5 separate regions of the Homo sapiens genome follow, and all the other regions are linked to region 3. Evidence: promoter capture Hi-C in 16 types of primary human blood cells and fetal thymus (Javierre and others, 2016). All regions are on one chromosome and are shown on one strand. Each heading gives the region's core, a stretch centred on a gene start or on the middle of the fragment in contact. The rest is flanking DNA. Distances are from core to core; before and after follow the strand shown.

Region 1 (3,989 bases), core at 334-2,833, 280 kb after region 3:
ACTCCATCTCAAAACAAAACAAAAACAAAAACAAAAAAACTTACTTCGGCCGGGCACAGTGGCTCACGCCTGTAATCCCAGCACTTTGGGAAGCCGAGGTGGGTGGATCACCTGAGGTCAGGAGTTCGAGACCAGCCTGGCCAACATCATGAAACCCCATCTCTACTAAAAAATACAAAAATTAGCTGAGCATGCTGGTGGGCACCTGTAATCCCAGCTACTCGGGAGGCTGGGGCAGGAGAATCACTTGAACCCAGGAGGCAGAGGTTGTAGTGAGCTGAGGTCATGCCACTGGCACTCCAGCCTGGGTGATAAGAGCGAAACTCTGTCTCAAAAAAAAAAAGTGTCATTTAAATGAACATGCTTGAACATGCTATACCCAGCACTGTGCTTGGCAGTATGAATGACACAGCCTCTGCTTCCATGTTAAATTCCTGGTAACCTGCTGGGCTCTTTCCCTTCCTGGGAATCCATCCCCTGAACCCCCCTCTGCACCCCCATCACAGGGGAAGTTGGAAGCACTCTGCTCAAACCATGCTGCATTGCCCACTCTGACAGTTTGGGGCATTTGGGGTGGATTTTCCTGTGGAAGTCATGGGGAGCACCGTGAAGCAGACTGACTTCCCGGCTGCTGTTCTCTGATGGAGAGGGGGTCCTTGGGATGCCCCCCCAAGTAGGTCCTTTTGATTGAGAGATGATGTATGAGATGGGATGGGGGAGAGGGCTTCCTCTGACAAAGGAAGGTGTAGAAGCTTCTCCCGGAGTTGGGCAGAGAAGGGTTAATCAACTAGAAAAATGCTGAGAGCCTGTCTCCCATAGGCAGCCAGATTGAGGCATGAAGAGGAGGAGCTGGCTTGGTGGTGTGGTGAATGAGTGCTCCCTGCATCTGTCTTCACATGGCCTTCTTATAGGGACATCAGTCATTAGATTTAGGCCCCATCCTAATCCGGTATGACCTCATCTTAAGAAGATTACATTTGCAAAGACCCTATTTCCTAATCAGGTTGCATTCACAGGTATCGGCGGTCAGGACTTCAATATATCTTTCTGGGGGACACAGTTCAACAAGGCTCAATGAGGAAAGAACATTTTGATTAGTAGGGAACATCGAGAGCAGAGGCCCCAGGGCTGCACAAGGTGGATGTCCCTGTCGCTGCCCACTGTTCTCTTGGGACTACACAGATCCTGGTGCCTAGCAGCTGTGGAAACAGAGTTGGGAGGCAGCCGACCCTCTGGACATCAGGCCTTTTCAGCTGACCCTGCCCAGCCTGGTGCCAGAGCAGGGCCCTGCCTGCCTGCCCCTCCTCCCTCTTCCTGCCTGGTCCTCATTCCCACCCACATCCCAAGATGGACAAGGACAATAAAAGCTGTTTCATAAGCAGCTGGTGATTAATTGCCAAGCTAATTAAAGAGGCAGTAATTGCACTCTGATTTCAGAGGAAGGAGTGATGTCTTGGGCAGGGGTGGGTGGTCAGCTTAGGTCTCCCTGACAAGGCAGAGCCAGAAGACAGAAAGGATTTGAAAAGCCAGGAAGAAAAAACAGGTGCACTTTTTTTTTTTTTTTGAAACGGAGTCTCGCTCTGTCTCTCAGGCTAGAGTGCAGTAGTGCAATGTTGGTCCACTGCAACCTCCACCTCCCAGGTTCAAGTGATTCTCCTGCTTCAGCCTCCCAAGTAGCTGGGACTACAGGTGCATGCCCCCATGCCCCACCAATTTTTTTTTTTTTAGACAGAGTCTCACTCTGCTGCCAGGCTGGAGTGCAGTGGCACGATCTCCGCTCACTGCAACCTCCGCCTCCTGGGTTCAAGCAATTCTCCTGCCTCAGCCTCCCTAGTAGCTGAGACTACAGGCATGCACCACCACACCCAGCTCATTTTTGTATTTTTAGTAGAGACAGGGTTTCACTATGTTGGCCAGGCTGGTCTCGAGCTCCTGACCTCAGGTGATCCTCCCTCCTCAGCCTCCCAAAGTGCTGGGACCACAGGCATGAGCCACTGTGCCCATCCGAAGCACCCTCTTTCTAGAGGTGCACCTGTTGGCTGCGCACAGTGGCTCACACCTGTAATCCCAGCGCTCTGGGAGGCCGATGTGGGTGGATCACCTGAGCTCAGGAGTTCGAGACCAGCCTGGCCAACATGGTGAAACCCTGTCTCTACTAAAAATACAAAAATTAGCTGGGTATGGTGGCACGCACCTGTAGTCCCAGCTACTTGAGAGGCTGAGGCAAGAGAATCGCTTGAACCTGGGAGGCTGCGGTTGCAGTGAGCCAAGATTGCACCATTGCACTCCAGCCCAGGCGACAGACAGAGACTCCATCTCAAAAAAAAAAAAAAAAAAAATAGTGGGTGCTTCAATCATAGCTGCACATAGCTGCAATATTTCATTTGACAGAGTCAGATGGGGGACTTAGATGCTTAAGCTTATCTCTGTACTTTTCCATGTCTTCGAAATATTTCATTAACATCCACACACACACAAAAATGGCAGGGGAGAGGTTAAGTGTTTCTAAATTCTAGTTTGGGATTTATAAATGGCTTCAAATACCAGTGTGCCTTACTTTACACAGTGGAGAGGGTCTTAAAATTCTGCGTCAATTGAATCCCGTTGGCCTACCCAGTAAATCTTAACGCCTCTGATGCTCTAGCTTCATTTCTGATTGATTTTCCCTGGCAGAGGTACCAAATTCTTTGCTTTAAGTGTCAGGCTCTCTCTGTCAAGTAGTTAATGACCTATAAAGCACTTAAAACGTACTGGAGGAGATGCGATTTGGAGGCACCCTGCAGTGTATCCTCTCTTATTGTCGGTAATCACCCCTCATTTATTTGCTCTTATTGGTTTGGAATTTGCTATCAGGTTTTCCTAAAGCCAAGCCCACCAGGAATGGTCCAATTCTATGTGGGCCCAGATGGGTGCCGGGATTGGAACCTAGGGGCAGTGGGCAGCCAGTGTGGCCTCTTTCCTCACGAGCCCTTCGGCTTGGGTGCCCTGGTCATCTCATGGCCACACATTCAGCGGCTCTGCCTCTTGCCAGCTGAGTGATCTTGAGCATTCAGTGCCCCCCTCCAAGCCTCACTTTCCTCTTCCACACTGCCCCAGAGCTGGTGCCTGCCCCTGAACAACTGGAAGATGACTCCAGCCTGGTGAAGTCAGTGCTGGGAGCCGTAGAAGAGGCCCAAGGTCAGGGTGAGCATGGAGGTCATGACCGAGGCAAGCTCCAGGGTCAGAGGTCATAGGAAGCATCCCCAAGGAGCACAAAACAGGGTGGGCCACTGACCTCGGGGCAGAAGAGCCTCTCAGAGAGGGGCCCAGCCTGGGAGGCAGAATAGGCTCTTCTAGGAGGGAAAGTGTCTTCATTTTCTTTTCTTTTTTTTTCCTTGAGACGGAGTCTTGCTCTGTCGCCCAGGCTGGAGTGCAATGGCGCAATCTTGGCTCATTGCAACCGCCATCTCCCAGGTTCAAGCGATTCTCCTGCCTCAGCCTCCTGAGTACTGGGACTACAGGCATGCACCACTACACCCAGCTAATTTTTCTATTTTTAGTAGAGACAGGTTTCGCCATGTTGGCCAGGCTGGTCTCAAACTCCTGACTTCAGGTGATCCACCTGCCCTCAGCCTCCCAAAGTGCTGGGATTACAGGCGTGAGCCTGGCCAGTGTCTTCATTTTCTATGGCTGCTGTAACTAATCACCACAAACCTGGTGACTTAAAACAACACACGTTATCCCTATTGAAAAGCCGGGAGAAAAAAGAAAGAAAAAAATTATTTTTTAAAAACCCACAACACGACACACATTTATTTTCTTACAGTTCTCAAGACCGGAAATTCAGAATCAGTTTCAACAGGCAGAAACCAGGGTGTTCACAGGGCCACGTTCCCTCCAGAAGCTTTGAGGAGTATCCGTTTCCTTGCCCTCTCCTGCTTCTGGGGCTCTGTTCCCCGGCTGTGGCCTCTTCTTCCATGTTCAAAACCAGCGGCGTACCATCTTCAGAC
Region 2 (3,792 bases), core at 203-2,702, 290 kb before region 3:
TGTTTTCCTCTCATGTTTTGCTGCCAGCTGCCTGGGAGGGGTGGCTGTATCCCTGTCCCACATCAGAAACTGATCCTCAGGACTTGAAGGCCCAGAAGTGGAGAGAGAATGAGACCTGGAGACAAAGGGCATAATTGTTGGGGAAATGGATGACAGCTGAAGCTATTCATATGGAGCCATATACTCTATTGTTGAAATAGAATAAGGAAATAAAATGATACACTCACATACCTGCGCGAGCTCTCCAAAAACACTGTACTACCTTGTCTACCAGGAGCTGGTTTCTCAGCCAGTTGGATAAGGGATTGTTTCAGCAAGGAGACTGATGGCCTCCTCAGGGAAGGAGGGACGGGACAGGATTTGTTCTTGTAACAGCATTCAAGGAGTCAGCTGGGTGCCTCAGCTGTACTCAGAGAACACCAGTCAGGCCATCCTGGGGCTGGCAGGGCAGAGAAAGGCCTAGGGGTTGGGGCTGCTGCGATTCAACAGCTCCCAGAGGCACTTGACCTGCTCCCTCGCCTCACGTGGAGGTGGATAGAGGTAAACTTTCCAGGCAAGGAGGGTCAAATTCTCAGCTTTCCTATCAGAACGAAACTGTCCCAGCCTCAGCCCTTGTCTGGCTAAAGTAGGTCACCTCTGTCCCTTCCCGTACAGCCGTCATCAGAACTGGTGTTTATGCACCCTCGTGGGTAGATCCTGGGAATGCATGTCCAGCTTGGTCCCCGGCATGAGGTCTGCGCTCGACAGTGCCTGCCCTGCGCCTGTTCTGGGGAGCTCAGCCCAGACCGGGCCTCCAGCTCCCTTCCCGCCCGGCAGGGGCCCCGGGCCCGGAGATGGCCACGCCACGCTGCCTTCTCGGGTCTGACTGTCCTGATCCTGCGCAAAAGTGGGGCTGCACTCGGCCTAACGAACGGACGAGGAAGCCCCCGCCGCACTTGGCTTATTAGTTGGTGGACCGGAGGGGCAAGGAGGGGATGCCCGAATCCTGCACTGAGTCTCTGAGGTCCTTAAAGAAGAACAAAAGTGCTAGTCACCGCCCACTAAACTCACGTTGCGATCTAAAGTTTAAAAACTCGGCCACAGACGACGACACAGTTTCAGGGAGGGCGCGCAGAAGGTCGCCCGGCCGACAGGAGCTGGGACCCCAGTTTGCTGATTCACGCCTTAAATTGGGCACAGACCCCACCCACAGATTTAACTTCCTCCAACACAAGCTAAATCCAGGGCCACGTACCCAGGGCCCGCAGGAGGGACAGGACGAGGATGGTGCCCACAGCGCGCTGGAGGCACGCCAGAGCCTGGAGGGGCAGGCAGGGGCGGTGGAGCGGGGCCGGAAGTGAGGCTAGCGGAGCCCCGCAGTGGCGGCTCGCGCTCATTGGCCGGGAGCAGCGCGGTGGGCGGGACGGAGCTCGGCGGTCTGCGCTCGGTTGCTAGCCGTTTGCTCCCGCTTTCAGTTGCTTTGCTGTTAGCCTGTTGGACCTTCGAGCCTAGCTGCTCGCACAGGACTCGGCCACCTGCCCTTCCTGCACCGACTGGCCAGGTAGGTGGCTGTAGGGGCCGCGGGCTGCAGGTTCCCGGGAAGGATAATGAGAGAACCGAGGGCCTCGAACCGGCTGCAGGTGGTGGGGAGGGAGTTTCGTGGACCTGGACGCCTCTGTTCCTTGAGAAGGCTCGCTCCCTCCTCCGGGAGCTCCGAAGGCTCGGGGTCAACCACCTGGGCCCCCGACCCCGGTAGCTGGCTCAAGGCCCGCCACTACCTGGTACCTCTGCAGGAGTTCAGAGCCTCATGCTGAGCCAGGAGGAGCTCCGGGTGACGCATACGGCAGGATCGGGATTGAGAGGCTGAAAAAGTGAGTTTAACAGTAGAGAAAGCAGGACCTGTCCCGCAGGCTGCTGTTCTGGCTTTTCTTTCCCACTACCTGCTTCAGTCATTGCCAGCTGTCTGGTATTCTCCTTGGCCCCTAAAGTTTTGCCCTAGCCTGGTTCTGGTTCCCTTGAGTTTGGAGCAGGAGGTGGAATGTGGAGGGTCCTGGGTGAACTTGGACTATTCCTTCTCTAGGTTTCACTTATCTCGTCTGCTTGGGGGTAGGGGGTTCTCCGGATGATCTCTGCAGCCCCTCACTGTCTGTAACTGAGCATCTCTCCCCTGGGGCAGGTGTCCTGGTAGTTCAGTAGCCAGCTCTGATCTCAGGTAGCCTGTGCTCATTTACAAAGAGTCAGAAGACAGAGCACTGGACTTAGAGCCAAACAGACACTTGGTTCAGCCTGGGAATAGCTGTGTGACTTTGGGCAGTCACCTCATTTTTCTGTGCCTTGATTTCACATTGGTAACATTGGGGAGTTGTAATCTGAGTGTGAGACCTCTCCTGACCACTTTATGTAATCTTGTACCTGACCGACACCCTCTCATCCCTCTGTGCTTATTTTACAAGTTTATTGATCAACTCTTATCCCTACTAGAGACAAGTACCATGAGTGCAGAGATTTTTGCTTATTTATTGCTGTATTCCCGCCTCTAGAACAGTGCCTAGAGTGTGGTAGGTACTGTCAACCTAAATAGCAGAGTGAGAGACTCTAAAAAAATGATGTTTACTTGGGAATAGACATTGTAGTGACAATATGTGTGCCATAGTAACCTGTGTACGTATTTGGGGAGGTAAAGGAAGACAAAGGTTTTGAAAAGGAAAAATGAGGATTACATGATTATTTTGAGATAGTTATCCTTGGCTACAAGGATGAATAGCAAGAGTGGTGCTAGTCTGAGGTTGGACAGGCAGTTGCAGGGCAGATGTCCTCACAGAAAGATTTTTCTGTGTAAGTTTGCAGTGGCCTTTGTGCAGGGTTGTGGTTTTTGCATTTTTTGTGATCTTGTTATCAGTCATTTGTGCATAAGAACCCTCTTTTCACAACCTTCCTCGGTTTTATTTGTCAGAGTTGTTGTTCTTGTTTTTTCCCATTGGAGAATCATGCTTTAAATTTGTCAGAGTTTTTAACACAAACGACTCTGTTTTGATTCTAACAACTTTCATATTTCCCCCTTTTGGTCAAGATCTTTCTCCAAAAACTTTACTGATCAGTCATCCTGTAGTTAGGTCCCTCAGTGCTGGGACGGACCTATCTTGGGTTGTTGGTCTCTTGCCATGTTGGAGACTAGGAGTCTCCAGTTGGAGACTGGTGACTAGGAGTCAGTGTCAAAACCCTTGTAGTGGTTGGGAGCAGGGGCTCACGTCTGTAATCCCAGTACTTTGGGAGGTCAAGGAGGGAGTATCACTTGAGTCCAGAAGTTCAAGACCAGCCTGGGCAACCGCCAAGGCGGGCGGATCACCTGAGGTTGAGAGTTCGAGACCAGCCTGACCAACATGAAGAAACCCGTCTCTACTAAAATACAAAAATATATATAAATAACATCCGGGCGCGGTGGCTCACACCTGTAATCCCAGCGCTTTGGGAGGCCGAGGCAGGCGGATCATGAGGTGAGGAGATCGAGACCATCCTGGCTAACACGGTGAAACCCCATCTCAACTAAAAATACAAAAAATTAGCCGGGCGTGGTGGCAGGTGCCTGTAGTCCCAGCTACTTGGGAGGCTGAGGCAGGAGAATGGCGTGAACCCAGGAGGCAGAGCTTGCAGTGAACCGAGATCGCACCACTGCACTCCAGCCTGGGCGACAGAGCAAGACTCTGTCTCAAAAAAATAAAAAATAAAAAAATAAAAAATAAATAAAATAAAATACAAAAATTAGCCGGGCGTGGTGGCACATGCCTGTAATCCCAGCTACTAGGGAGGCTGAGG
Region 3 (3,938 bases), core at 1,324-3,823:
AGATCGAGACCATCCTGGCTAACAAGGTGAAACCCCGTCTCTACTAAAAATACAAAAAATTAGCCGGGCGCGGTGGCGGGCGCCTGTAGTCCCAGCTACTCAGGAGGCTGAGGCAGGAGAATGGCGTGAACCCGGGAAGCGGAGCTTGCAGTGAGCCGAGATTGCGCCACTGCAGTCCGCAGTCCGGCCTGGGCGACAGAGCGAGACTCCGTCTCAAAAAAAATAATTATTATTTTATTAGCTGGGCGCGGTGGCTCACGCCTGTAATCCCAGCACTTTGGGAGGCCAAGGCAGGTGGATCACCTGAGGTCAGGAGTTCAAGACAGCCTGGCCAACATGGTGAAACCCCGTTTCTACTAAAAATACAAAAGTTAGCCAGGTGTGGTGGCACGCAACTATAATCCCAGCTACTCGGGAGGCTGAGGCATGGGGAAATCACTTGAACCCGGGAGGTGGAGGTTGCAGTGAGCCAAGATCGCGCCATTGCCCTCCAGCCTGGGAGACAAGAGCGAGACTCTGTCTCAAAAAAAAAAAAAAAAAAAAAAGTGAGTTATCATTACTGTTTTTTTCATTAAATACTTAAAATTTTACTTTTGTTTTTTATTAATGCTCAGGCTGTTCTAAGTTCTCAACACTATTACTTATTCCCCTTCCTTGATTTGATTCCTCAGCTGGAGTCCTGATGATGGATACCATAAAACCCGTGTGGCACAGGTTTGAGTAACTGGCCAGCTACAGATCACTGATCTTCCCCATAGGGATGCATACTCCTTGACCCCTTCTTTTCTCTCCTCTTCCCTTGCTTTCTAGGCTCCTGTAGCCCTCTGCCTTCTTTTCCTCCTCTCAAGACCCTTCTGACTTTGGGACTTTCTTCCCAAAACAGAATTTGAGGGAAGGTCTTGGGAGGGGTCGGTTTAGAAAGAGCTGGATCCTCAGAGTCAGGATACCTGGGTTCTGTCTTCTACTTGGCCACTGATTTACCCTTCACAAGCCACCCTTTTTGAATGTGGTCCTCCTTCCCCCAGCACCTTCCTCCTGCAACCAGAGAGGGTTCTGGGTACTCCTAGAAGTATTCTGCCAGGCAAACATTATGTTTTCAAACTGCTGAATTTGAATGCACCACCCCGAAACACACACACACACACACACACACACACTGCTACAGTCACTCCCCACACACATCTTTTATCTGCCTGCCCCTGAAGGCATCTGAATTTGCAGTCCCTGAACCAGCAGATCACTCAAGTTTCTCCTTCTCTAGTATCGCGTGGGTTTAAGTTCTGGTCAGTAGCAATTTTTCCAAAAGTCAGCTTGAAGACAGGGACTCTGTGGAGCAGACACAGTTCTCATATGTCAAAGAACCGGGTTCTGCTTGGAAGCTGCTGCTAAGGAAAGCCCTATAAATAACAAAAATAACAACAAAAACAACGGCAGCAGCTAATATTTAATGAGTTAAATATGCATCAAGTCCTGTTCTAAGCACTCTAGATATTTTAACTTAATACAGTAACCTTCTGAAGAAGGAATTATTATTCCCATTTTAAAGATGAAGAAACTGAGGAATAGATGAAATAACTGGCCCAAGGTCACACAGCTAGTTGAGGGCAGCGCCTGAAGAAAAGTCCGTGCTCCTAACCACCACATTCTACCGCCTTTTCACACACACAAGCAGGGACTCGACAGCCCTGAGGAGTGGCACCGTGCTCCAGCTCACTCAAAAACACCTCTTTCTCGCACTTTGGGAGGCCGAGACGGGCGGATCACGAGGTCAGGAGATCGAGACCATTCTGGCTAACACGGTGAAATCCCGTCTCTACTAAAAATACAAAAAAAAATGGCCGGCGTGGTGGCGGGCGCCTGTAATCCCAGCTATTCGGGAGGCTGAGGCTGAGGCAGGAGAATGACGTGAATCCGGGAGGCGGAGCTTGCAGTGAGCCGAGATCGCACCACTGCACTCCAGCCTGAGCGACACAGCGAGACTCTGTCACAAACAAAAAAATCCAACGGGCATCTATAATTACACTCTGCAACTCTAGACTTTGGGTTCTGGGTACAACAGTGGCTCGGCCTGGGCCCTGGGCACATCACTTCACCTCTCGGTGCCTCCGCTGCCTCACCCACAAAGTGAGTGTGTCACTGACAGTCATCGTCCTCCCGCCAATTGCGAAGGACAAAAGAGACCAAAGCTCCGATAGCACGTACGAATGCTAGGCACGGCCGGTCTGACCACCGCGCCGCCGCCAGGTCCGGCCCATGGTAGGCTCGGGTGACCCTCTTCCCCTGAAGCACCCGCAGTCGCCTCTGCCCAAGTTGGTGACCTCAGCTGGGCCCATGAGAAACCCCGGCCGGGCCGGCTACGACCTTGAGCGGCGGCCTCCGGGTCCCCACGTAAGCCGCTACCTCTCACCAGTGTTCGGCACCTCCCGATACCAGGCGCGGTAGAGCTCGCGCACCCTCCGCTTGGCCTCGTTCATGTCCCGACTGAAAATGGGCTTCACGAAGGTGCTGGCGGTAGAAGTAGCTTGGCGGACGCCGCTCCCCGCCATCTTGCCAAAGCATCCACTCCACAACCCCACCCCTTTGCAAGCAGCGCGTGCGGACCGCGGGCGAATGTCTTTTCCCATTGGCTAAGGAGGAACGCCCCGCCTGTATGCTGGGTGGGCGGGAGGATGACTCTGAGGCTCTCGGATTGGCTGGGAAGCCTCTCTCTGGCTGAGCGAACGGTGGGTGCTGCGCATGCTCATCTACAGAAACGCCGCTTGGCCTTTGGACTACACCATCTGTCGCTCGCTCTAACGAGCCGGCGTTGCCGCCAGGGGACGCTCGGGCCGCAGGAGGTCGCTGGGTCGTGAGCTGGCGCCGGGGACGCCGAGCGACTGCGGGGTTTCCCTCAGCGTCCTGCTATCCGGCTGCCCGCCGCGCTCCTTGGTAGTGTCCGTGGGCGCGCAGGCCTTGAAGAACCTCCTCGTGGCGGGACCCCGAGGTAACTGCTGAGGCAGATAATGGCGCCTGGGCTGCGGTGGGGCTTGTCCTGCCGCCTGGCGGCTTTCTGCAGGGCCAGGATATACTTACTTTTCTGTAAACCAACTCTTCCTTAGCGCAGGAGAGGTGTCAAAGAGCTGGCGCGTCTCCAGAGCCCCGGGAGGAAGGCTGTAACGGCAGCCCCATCGTAGACAGGGACATTCGCATCCCGAGCCCTGGATCTCTGAAAACCAGCCCAGAATTTGGAAGCTGGAAGGAACTTTAGATCGTCCATTCTGAGTGTCTCTCTTCGCTGGCGTTTTCCCACTGAGGTTATGTAAACATGAAGAGGAGCCTACAAGTGTCAAGGAAAAAACGACAGCTAACCACAGGGCAGGCCATGGGCAAGATATCTCAGTGTTCTCCGCTCTCATAGGTCAGGTAGGTACCTCAGCATCCCCATTTTACAGGTGAGGAAACTGAGATGGCCCAGAGTCTAGGTCACCTGACAGATCGCCCCCACCTGCCTGACTGCTGCCTAAGAGGCTCCGTCTTTTTCTGAAGGTGTAGTTGACAGGAGCCTGTGAGTATTGGGGAAGGGCCAGGGGCCGGGGCTGAGCATCTACTCCAAACTTTCCCATTTCGAAGGGTTAAAAAACCAGATATACTTTTTTTCTTCCTTATTATCTTCTAAAATGTATATATATATTCAAGTGAGCTATACAAAAGAAAGCACGTAACATATATAAATTATAAAGCATAATAATAAAATGGAAGCTTTTGAACCTCAGTACTGACTTAAGAAGTTGTAACACAGTTAAGGTTTGTATAAAGTGTCCTTAGATGTCCTTAGTAGCCACTGTTCTCTAGTTCTCTAGGTACATTAACTTGGCTAGGCTTCACAACACACCAGTGAGATTGTGTTGATATACCCTTTTTTTTTTTTTTTTTTGAGACAGAGTGAGACTCACCTAGGC
Region 4 (3,445 bases), core at 568-3,067, 380 kb after region 3:
TATGCTACAAGTAAAAGAGGGATACTATCTTTTTTTTTTTTTTCGAGACAGGGTTTCACTCTGTAACCCAGGCGGGAGTGCAGTGGTGCAATCTTGGCTCACTGCAACCTCCATCTCCTGGGTTCAAGCGATTCTCGTGCCTCAGCCTCCCGAGTAGCTGGGATTACAGGTGTGTGCCACCATGCCAGGCTCTTTTTTTTTTTTTTCTTTTTGGTATTTTTAGTAGAGACAGGGTTTCACTATGTTGGCCAGACTGGCCTCGAACTCCTGACCTCAAATGACCTGCCCACCTCAGCCTCCCAAAGTGCTGGGATTACAGGCATGAGCCACCGCACCTGGCCAGATACTATCTTAGATGTATTAATATTTTTTCCTTCTCTTATTCAGTCAGAAGCTTCTGTTGGCCTCAAGGATAATTATGATTTTCATAGTAGGTAGGTGATGAGAAAGAAAGACGCTTTCACTTTTAAGTATTAAGACTGACTCCAAGTGCATGTGATTCGGTAGTCTTGAAACTGAGCTTTCAGAGAAAAAAGAGATTTTCTAAATTCCAAAGGCTCTGCTTTAAGACGTAAATAACAGAATCCTGGACTTGGATTATAAGCAGTGCACAGGGTCTGAAGGTGTGACTTAGGGAAGTTCCCATCAGTAGGAAGACACAGGAGATCAGATGTCAGCGTCCTGATTCCCTCCTCGGGGTTAACACAGTGGTAGCAAGGCCTGCGGTGAGCATGGCAGCAGAACGACAGGGGCTGCTCAGGCATGCTTTGGAAATGGCCAGGAAAGGGTCTAGGACAGTGGCCTGGAAGGCAGCCTCACAGATCTAGTGTGAGGCTACACCCAGCCTACACTCTCTAGTGTGGAGTGGGAAAAGCAGCCCAGGCCCTGATGAATCAAAAGACTGAGATTGGGGTACAGAGGCCAGGCTGGGAGCCCTGGGCTGGAGGTTGAGAATAATGCATGATGGTATCGCCTCGTGGACACCAGGACGGAAGGTCCAGGAACCGCCCTGGCCATGGCTGAGAGGCAGGAGCCAGGAGGGTGCCCTAGTTACCCCGCACCCTAGCAGCATCTCAGAAAGGAGCAGGGAGAGACACTTGATCGGAACTTGAACCTGAACTTGAACTTTAATCTTGACGCGTTAATGAGGAAGGGAGTTTTGGAAGACTGAAGAGGCTGAGTTAGCTCTGATGAGCATGTTCCTGGTGTTATTTCCTTTCTCTCTTTTGCCGTGAGCAAGAGTGGGGACTTGCGAGCTCAAGGGAATCAGTTATAGACCATTTTTAGTTCTATTTCTGTGCACATCTGCCTGCATACAGCATAAAGATTTTTACCCTGGTTGAGGCGTGCACGGGATGCTGGGATTACAGGCGTGAGCCACCGTACCCACCTGACCCTAAATTATTTTTGGTTCCTCCAATCCAACTTTCTTCCATAGAATACTAAGAATGGGAATTGCTCTGTTCCTAAGGCACTATAAGCTGAAACTAAATGAATTTTAAGGGATGAGTCTTGTGTGTGATCTATGGACCATATAGAAAGTTCACTGGACTGCCTCATGCCATGAGCAGAGACAGTCTAACTGTAAACCAGGACAAGCAGTTGATGGCTTCATGCTGTGGGTGGCTTTTCCCAAGACAACAGAACAAGAGTCCCCATCATGAGCCTCTTGTCCCTCTTAATTCTTCCCTGCTTATGCCAATTTTTTCCACTTGGCAGGATAATGATGCAACTGAAACTTCCCAATCAGTAGCTTCTGCTGGTAACTTGACAGAACCTGACCTAAGAGATCCTTTAGGCCACCTAGTGGGTAACTTTGGCAACATCCCTAATAGAACTGTTGTTCACTCGGCTTTAATGCATCCCAGTTGTGGGATACTAGATGATGAATTTGCTCTATATTATTTATTGGTTGGATAAGGAAATGTCTGTGCTATTGCTAATACTACATGCCACACCTGGATAAATTTCTTTGGGGAAGTTGAGACCCAAATACACAAAATAAGAAAACAAGTCACTTGGTTACAACAGGTCTCATCTAATTCTCCATGGTCATTCGATTTATTCAATGTATTCCCTTTAAGTCTAGGTTCATAGCTCAAAACCATTATGCAAACTAGGGTTACCATTTTTATTTATTTATTTATTATTTATTTATTTATTTATTTATTTATTTATTTATTTATTTTTGAGACAGAGTTGCGTGCTGTCACCCAGACTGGAGTGTAGTGACACGATCTCAGCTCACTGCAACCTCCGCCTCCTGGGTGTGAATCCTCCTGCCTCAGCCTCCCGAGAAGCTGGGACTACAGGCATGCACCACCACGTCCAGCTAATTTTTTTTTTTTTTTTGAGCCGGAGTCTTGCTCTATCACCCAGGCTGGAGTGCAGTGGCTATATCTCGGCTCACTGCAAGCTCTGCCTCCTGGGTTCACGCCATTCTCCTGCCTCAGCCTCCCGAGTAGCTGGGACTACAGGTGCCTGCCACCATGCCCAGCTAATTTTTTGTATTTTTTTTTTTTTTAGTGGAGATGGGGTTTCACCGTGTTAGCCAGGATGGTCTTGATCTCCTAACCTCGTGATCTGCCCTCCTCAGCCTCCCAAAGTGCTGGGATTACAGGCGTGAGCCACCGCGCCCAGCCACGTCCAGCTAATTTTTTGTAGAGACAGGATTTCACCATGTTGCCCAGGCTGGTCTCAAACTCCTGGGCTCAAGAGATCCACCCACTTCAGACTCCCAAAGTGCTGGGATTACAGGTGTGAGCCACTGCACCTGGCTATCCCTTCTCTTAGAAGGATGAATCAGTCTATTCAGTAAATTTAAAAGGTGACTGGGGCTGGGCGTGGTGGTTCACATCTGTAATTCCAGCACTGTGGGAGGCCGAGGCAGGTGGATCACCTGAGGTCAGGAGTTCGAGACCAGTATGACCAACACGGTGAAACCCCATCTCTACTAATAATACAAAAATTAGCCAGGTGTGGTGGTGCACAACTGTAATCCCAGCTACTCTGGAGGCTGACGCAGGAGAATCACTTGAACCCAGGAAGTGGAGGTTGCAGTGAGCCGAGATCGCACCAGTCACTCCAATAGAGTGAGACTCTGTCTCAAAAAAAAAAAGAAAAAGTGACCTTATGAATGGGTAACAATTGCCTGTGTCTTACAGCCAGATCTCAAACAACTTCGTGAACAAATCTACAAGAATCACACATTGTTAAAACACAGCCATCTCACACACAGAATCAAGCTTGTGTTTGACAATGGCATGGAAATCACACTAATTATGATGACCTAGGCTGGGAGAGAAAACCAGTGCACCTGCACTATCTGATCCCAGCCTCCCTCTGAGCCTCACCTGGGGTCACTCTTCCCCTTAGTGTGCTGTAGCCACTCTAGATCCCACCTGCTCCTAAACACACCCATCTCTTCTCTGCCCCGGGGCCTTTG
Region 5 (3,621 bases), core at 1,010-3,509, 400 kb before region 3:
TTTTCTTTTTTTTTTTTTTTTGAGATGGAGTCTTGCTGTGTGGCCCAGGCTAAAGTCCAGTGGTGCGATCTCGGCTCACAGCAACCTCTGCCTCCCAGGTTCAAGTGATTCTCTTGACTCTGCCTCCCTAGTAGCTGGGATTACAGGCATGTGCCACCACGCACAGCTAATTTTTGTATTTTTAGTAGACACAGGGTTTCACCATGTTGGTCTGGCTGGTCTCGAACTCCTGACCTCAAGTGATCCACCCACCTTGGCCTCCCAAAGCGTTGGGATTACAGGTGTGAGCCACCACGCCTGGTCGACTCTGGATTTCTTTCTTTCTTTCTTTCTTTCTTTGAGACGGAGTCTTGCTCTGTCACCCAGACTGGAGTGCAGTGGCGCGATCTCGGCCCACTGAAAGCTCCACCTCCCGGGTTCATGCCATTCTCCTGCCTAAGCCTCCTGAGTAGCTGGGACTACAGGTGCCCGCCACCATGCCTGGCCAATTTTTTTTTTTTTTTTGTATTTTTAGTAGAGACGGGGTTTCATCGTGTTAGCCAGGATGGTCTCAATCTCCTGACCTTGTGATCCGCCCACCTCGACCTCCCAAAGTGCTGGGATTACAGGCGTGAGCCAGTGCACCCAGCCTCTTCTTTTTTTTTTTTTTTCAGATGGAGTCACGCTCTGTCACCCAGGCTGGACTGCAGTGGCGTGATCTTGGCTCACTGCAACCTCCGCCTCCTGGGTTCAAGCAATTCTTGTGCCTCAGCCTCCTGAGTAGCTGGGATTACAGGCATGCGCCATGATGGCTGGCTAATTTTTGTATTTTTAGTAGAGAAGGGGTTTTGCCATGTTGGCCAGGCTGGTCTGGAACTCCTGACCTCAAGTGATCCACCCATCTTGGCCTCCCAAAGTGCTGGGATTACAGACATGAGCCACCATGCCCTGCCATCAGAACAAACTTTTAGAAACAGAACATAGCACTTAGCTGCTCAAAACCCTGCAATGGCTCCTATACTTACATTATCTGGCAAACTCAGAATAAAATTCTCGCTCCTAATCACGACTCTAAGGACCAGCATAATCTGTCCCATGTTTGTCTCCGATCTTATCTCCCAGTGCTCTCCTCATTACTGGTTCCATTCTGGCCACACAGTCTTCTTTGCTGTTCCTGTACATGTAATTTTGTTCCATCCTCAAGCCTTTGTACTTAATGTCTCTTCTGCCTACAACGCTCTTTCCTCAGATGTCACTTGGTTTGCCCCTTACTTCATTCAGGCTCCAGTCAAATGTCACTTCCTCCAAGAAGCCTTTCCTGACTATTCTGTCTGTGCGGATTATGCAAGTTATTATGTGTGCAAGGATTTTGCTTCTCTGTTCTCATCTACAGGTGCCACTGCAGAAGCGGGCAGTGCCCTCCATGAGGTGCGAAACTGTCTTCAAGCTGACTCCTGAATTCTTCAGTCCTGGAAAGTCCAGGGGCCTAGATTCTCAACAATGCGCACAAAGGCAGAGATGGGGATACCGGAGGAGCCTCCAGGAATCATGGGCCCAGAACCTGCTCTCTCCACAGCACCCATGTCCAGGCCCACCTTCGGGTGTCCACACCCACTCTGAGCCCATCTTTTGTACCACCTCCATTTCAAACACCTGTTTACTGCCTCAGAACAGTTCCTGGAAAGCATGGCAGGTGCCTTGGTGTCTCCATGATGGTCAGACTCGCCCTGCCTTGGACATGTGTCAAGAGATGGAGCAGCTGCTGCTTCACTCACAGGAAAGGTTGGTGTCACTGGAGCCTGTCATCAGTGTGAGGTCTCGCCCCACCTCCATGACCTTAACCACCTCTCTTCCAAACTTACTTTCAGCTGAGAGGCTGCAGTTCTGCCCCCAGAGAGCTCCTGCCTGATCCTTCCCACCAAACACTGAGAATGTGCACTTGGAAGTCTTGGCACTGTCGACCAGAGGCCTGGGAACCAGGGGGTAAAAACCAGAAAGCAGGCAGAGAGGATAGTAGAGAGACCCAGGCTCCAAGGTGGGTGAACCAGACAGGGAGCAGACGGGAGGATGCTTCAGAAATCCAGGCATCTGGGGAGTAGTTCCCAGTAGACTTTGGAATGGAGGGTGATGCAGAGACTAACGTGTTGGAGTGTGCAAACCAGAGACTAGTAATAAGTGAAACTGATGGCGAGATCTTGACACCAGGGTGGGACACCCAGGACCGGATGGGAGTTGAGAGTAGAACCAACATTCAGGAACTAGGGAATAGAAACCAGAGGGAGGCTGGAGGTGAGAATCTCCCTGAAACCCAGGCACATATGGGAGAGAACCAAGAACAGTTAAGATGTAAAATTGATGCAGAGACCCAAACACCTGAGTGGGAGAACCAGGATAAGAATGGAAGTGAGGATGCTGTGGAGACCCAGACATTTGAGAAGAAGGACAAGAAAGAGGCTGGAGAGGAGGATGGGGAAGAGATCCAGGCTCAAGGATTGGGGAAGCAAGGCCAGACTGGAGATGAGAATGGTGAGGAGACCCAGACACCACAGTGGGAGAAACAAGATCAGATGAAAGGTGATGCGGATGTGGAAATTCAGATGGAAGAGGGGAGAAACAAGGATCAGGTTGGAGGTCAGGATGCTGCACAAACCCAATCATGTGGGAGGGAGAACGTGGGAGAAGTAAAAAAAGAGAATAGTGTAGAGACCCAGGCCTTGGATTGGGGAAAACAGGAATGTGTTGGAAATGGGAATGTTACAGAGATCCAGACACCAAGGTGGGAGAAGCATGATCAAGGTGGAAGTAAGAAAGCTAAGAAGACCCAAGCATCTGGGGGAGAGAACCAGAAACAATTAAGTCATGAAATTCAAGTGGGGTGGGGAAATAAGGGCCTGAGAAGAGATGAAGATGCTAAGGAAACCCAGATAGCTACCAAGAAGAAGCTCAGGGAGATAAGAGAAGGATTGGGTGGTGATCCAGGCACTATGGTGGGGAAACCGGAGACAAGTAGCAAGTGAAATTTATAGAGAATTTGAGATACTATGTTGGGAGAATCAGAACTGGATTGGAGGTGAACATAGAGCAGAAATTCAGGCATCAGAGAAGAGAGACCAAAGAAAGGATGGATGTGAGGATGGCACAAATATCCTGGCACCCGAGGCTGAGATCCAGGAACAATTAAAAGGTGAAACTGATGTGGAGACTCAGAGCAATGAGCCACTTAGAGAAGAGGATGGTACAGACATTCAGTCACTAGGGAGGAGAGAGGTTAAAGGTGAGGATGATAAAGACACCCAGGAACTTGGGAGGAAAAATCAGGGTCAGTTAGGAAATGAATTTAGTGGAAAGATTCACATACCAAAGGGGAAGAATCAGGAACATATTAGAGGCGAAGATGGTGCACATACCCAGATATCTGAGTCAGGGAACTGGGGCAAATTAACAAGTCAAATTGATGGAGAAATGCATTCAGCAGAATGGAAGAAAGATCAGCAGATTGGAGGTGAGAATGGGGCAGAAATTCAGATACAAGGGAAGAGAAACCTGAGAGAAGTTGGAGGTGAGGACGGTGTAAAGACCTGGGCACCTGGGAAAGAAACCCAGAGTCAGTTTAGAAGTGATCTTGGTAGAAAGATCCTTTTA

The links. Contacts are between HindIII fragments. The CHiCAGO score rates a contact against its expected background, and 5 or more counts as called.
Region 1: a fragment that was not itself captured here is called in contact with the fragment with the promoter of NDUFA6 in region 3 in 7 of 17 cell types (non-activated CD4 T cells, activated CD4 T cells, neutrophils and 4 more); the score reaches 6.9 in non-activated CD4 T cells.
Region 2: a contact is called between the fragment with the promoter of CCDC134 here and the fragment with the promoter of NDUFA6 in region 3, in 3 of 17 cell types (total B cells, endothelial precursors and naive B cells). The highest score is 7.6, in total B cells.
Region 4: a fragment that was not itself captured here is called in contact with the fragment with the promoter of NDUFA6 in region 3 in 16 of 17 cell types (M1 macrophages, M2 macrophages, M0 macrophages and 13 more); the score reaches 18.1 in M1 macrophages.
Region 5: a fragment that was not itself captured here is called in contact with the fragment with the promoter of NDUFA6 in region 3 in 1 of 17 cell types (naive CD4 T cells); the score reaches 5.1 in naive CD4 T cells.

The regions. Positions count from the first base shown.
Region 1 is chr22:42,370,446-42,374,434 of GRCh38, forward strand. It overlaps LOC124905126 (a long non-coding RNA gene), which reads left to right. Exons shown (of 2, transcript XR_007068114.1): 2 at 1,017-1,381. Among named protein-coding and RNA genes, the nearest start is that of LINC01315, 3.2 kb to the left of the region's middle. The HindIII fragment of the contact is 1,667 bases long and covers 751-2,417 here.
Region 2 is chr22:41,799,227-41,803,018 of GRCh38, forward strand. CCDC134 (coiled-coil domain containing 134) reads left to right here and starts at 1,453. Exons shown (of 7, transcript NM_024821.5): 1 at 1,453-1,540. MEI1 (meiotic double-stranded break formation protein 1) reads left to right here. Exons shown (of 31, transcript NM_152513.4): 31 at 28-228. The coding sequence ends at 73. RefSeq lists enhancers at 274-1,260, 1,036-1,115, 1,186-1,265 and silencers at 736-825, 1,416-1,475. The HindIII fragment of the contact is 12,855 bases long and covers 1-3,792 here.
Region 3 is chr22:42,088,199-42,092,136 of GRCh38, forward strand. NDUFA6 (NADH:ubiquinone oxidoreductase subunit A6) reads right to left here and starts at 2,574. Exons shown (of 3, transcript NM_002490.6): 1 at 2,408-2,574. The coding sequence starts at 2,546. It overlaps NDUFA6-DT (NDUFA6 divergent transcript), which reads left to right and starts at 2,735. Exons shown (of 5, transcript NR_034118.2): 1 at 2,735-2,983; 2 at 3,099-3,402; 3 at 3,921-3,938. The HindIII fragment of the contact is 8,372 bases long and covers 1-3,736 here.
Region 4 is chr22:42,471,907-42,475,351 of GRCh38, forward strand. No RefSeq gene overlaps it. Among named protein-coding and RNA genes, the nearest start is that of NFAM1, 41 kb to the left of the region's middle. The HindIII fragment of the contact is 2,851 bases long and covers 393-3,243 here.
Region 5 is chr22:41,692,091-41,695,711 of GRCh38, forward strand. It overlaps the pseudogene C22orf46P. Among named protein-coding and RNA genes, the nearest start is that of SNU13, 5.0 kb to the left of the region's middle. The HindIII fragment of the contact is 7,463 bases long and covers 1-3,621 here.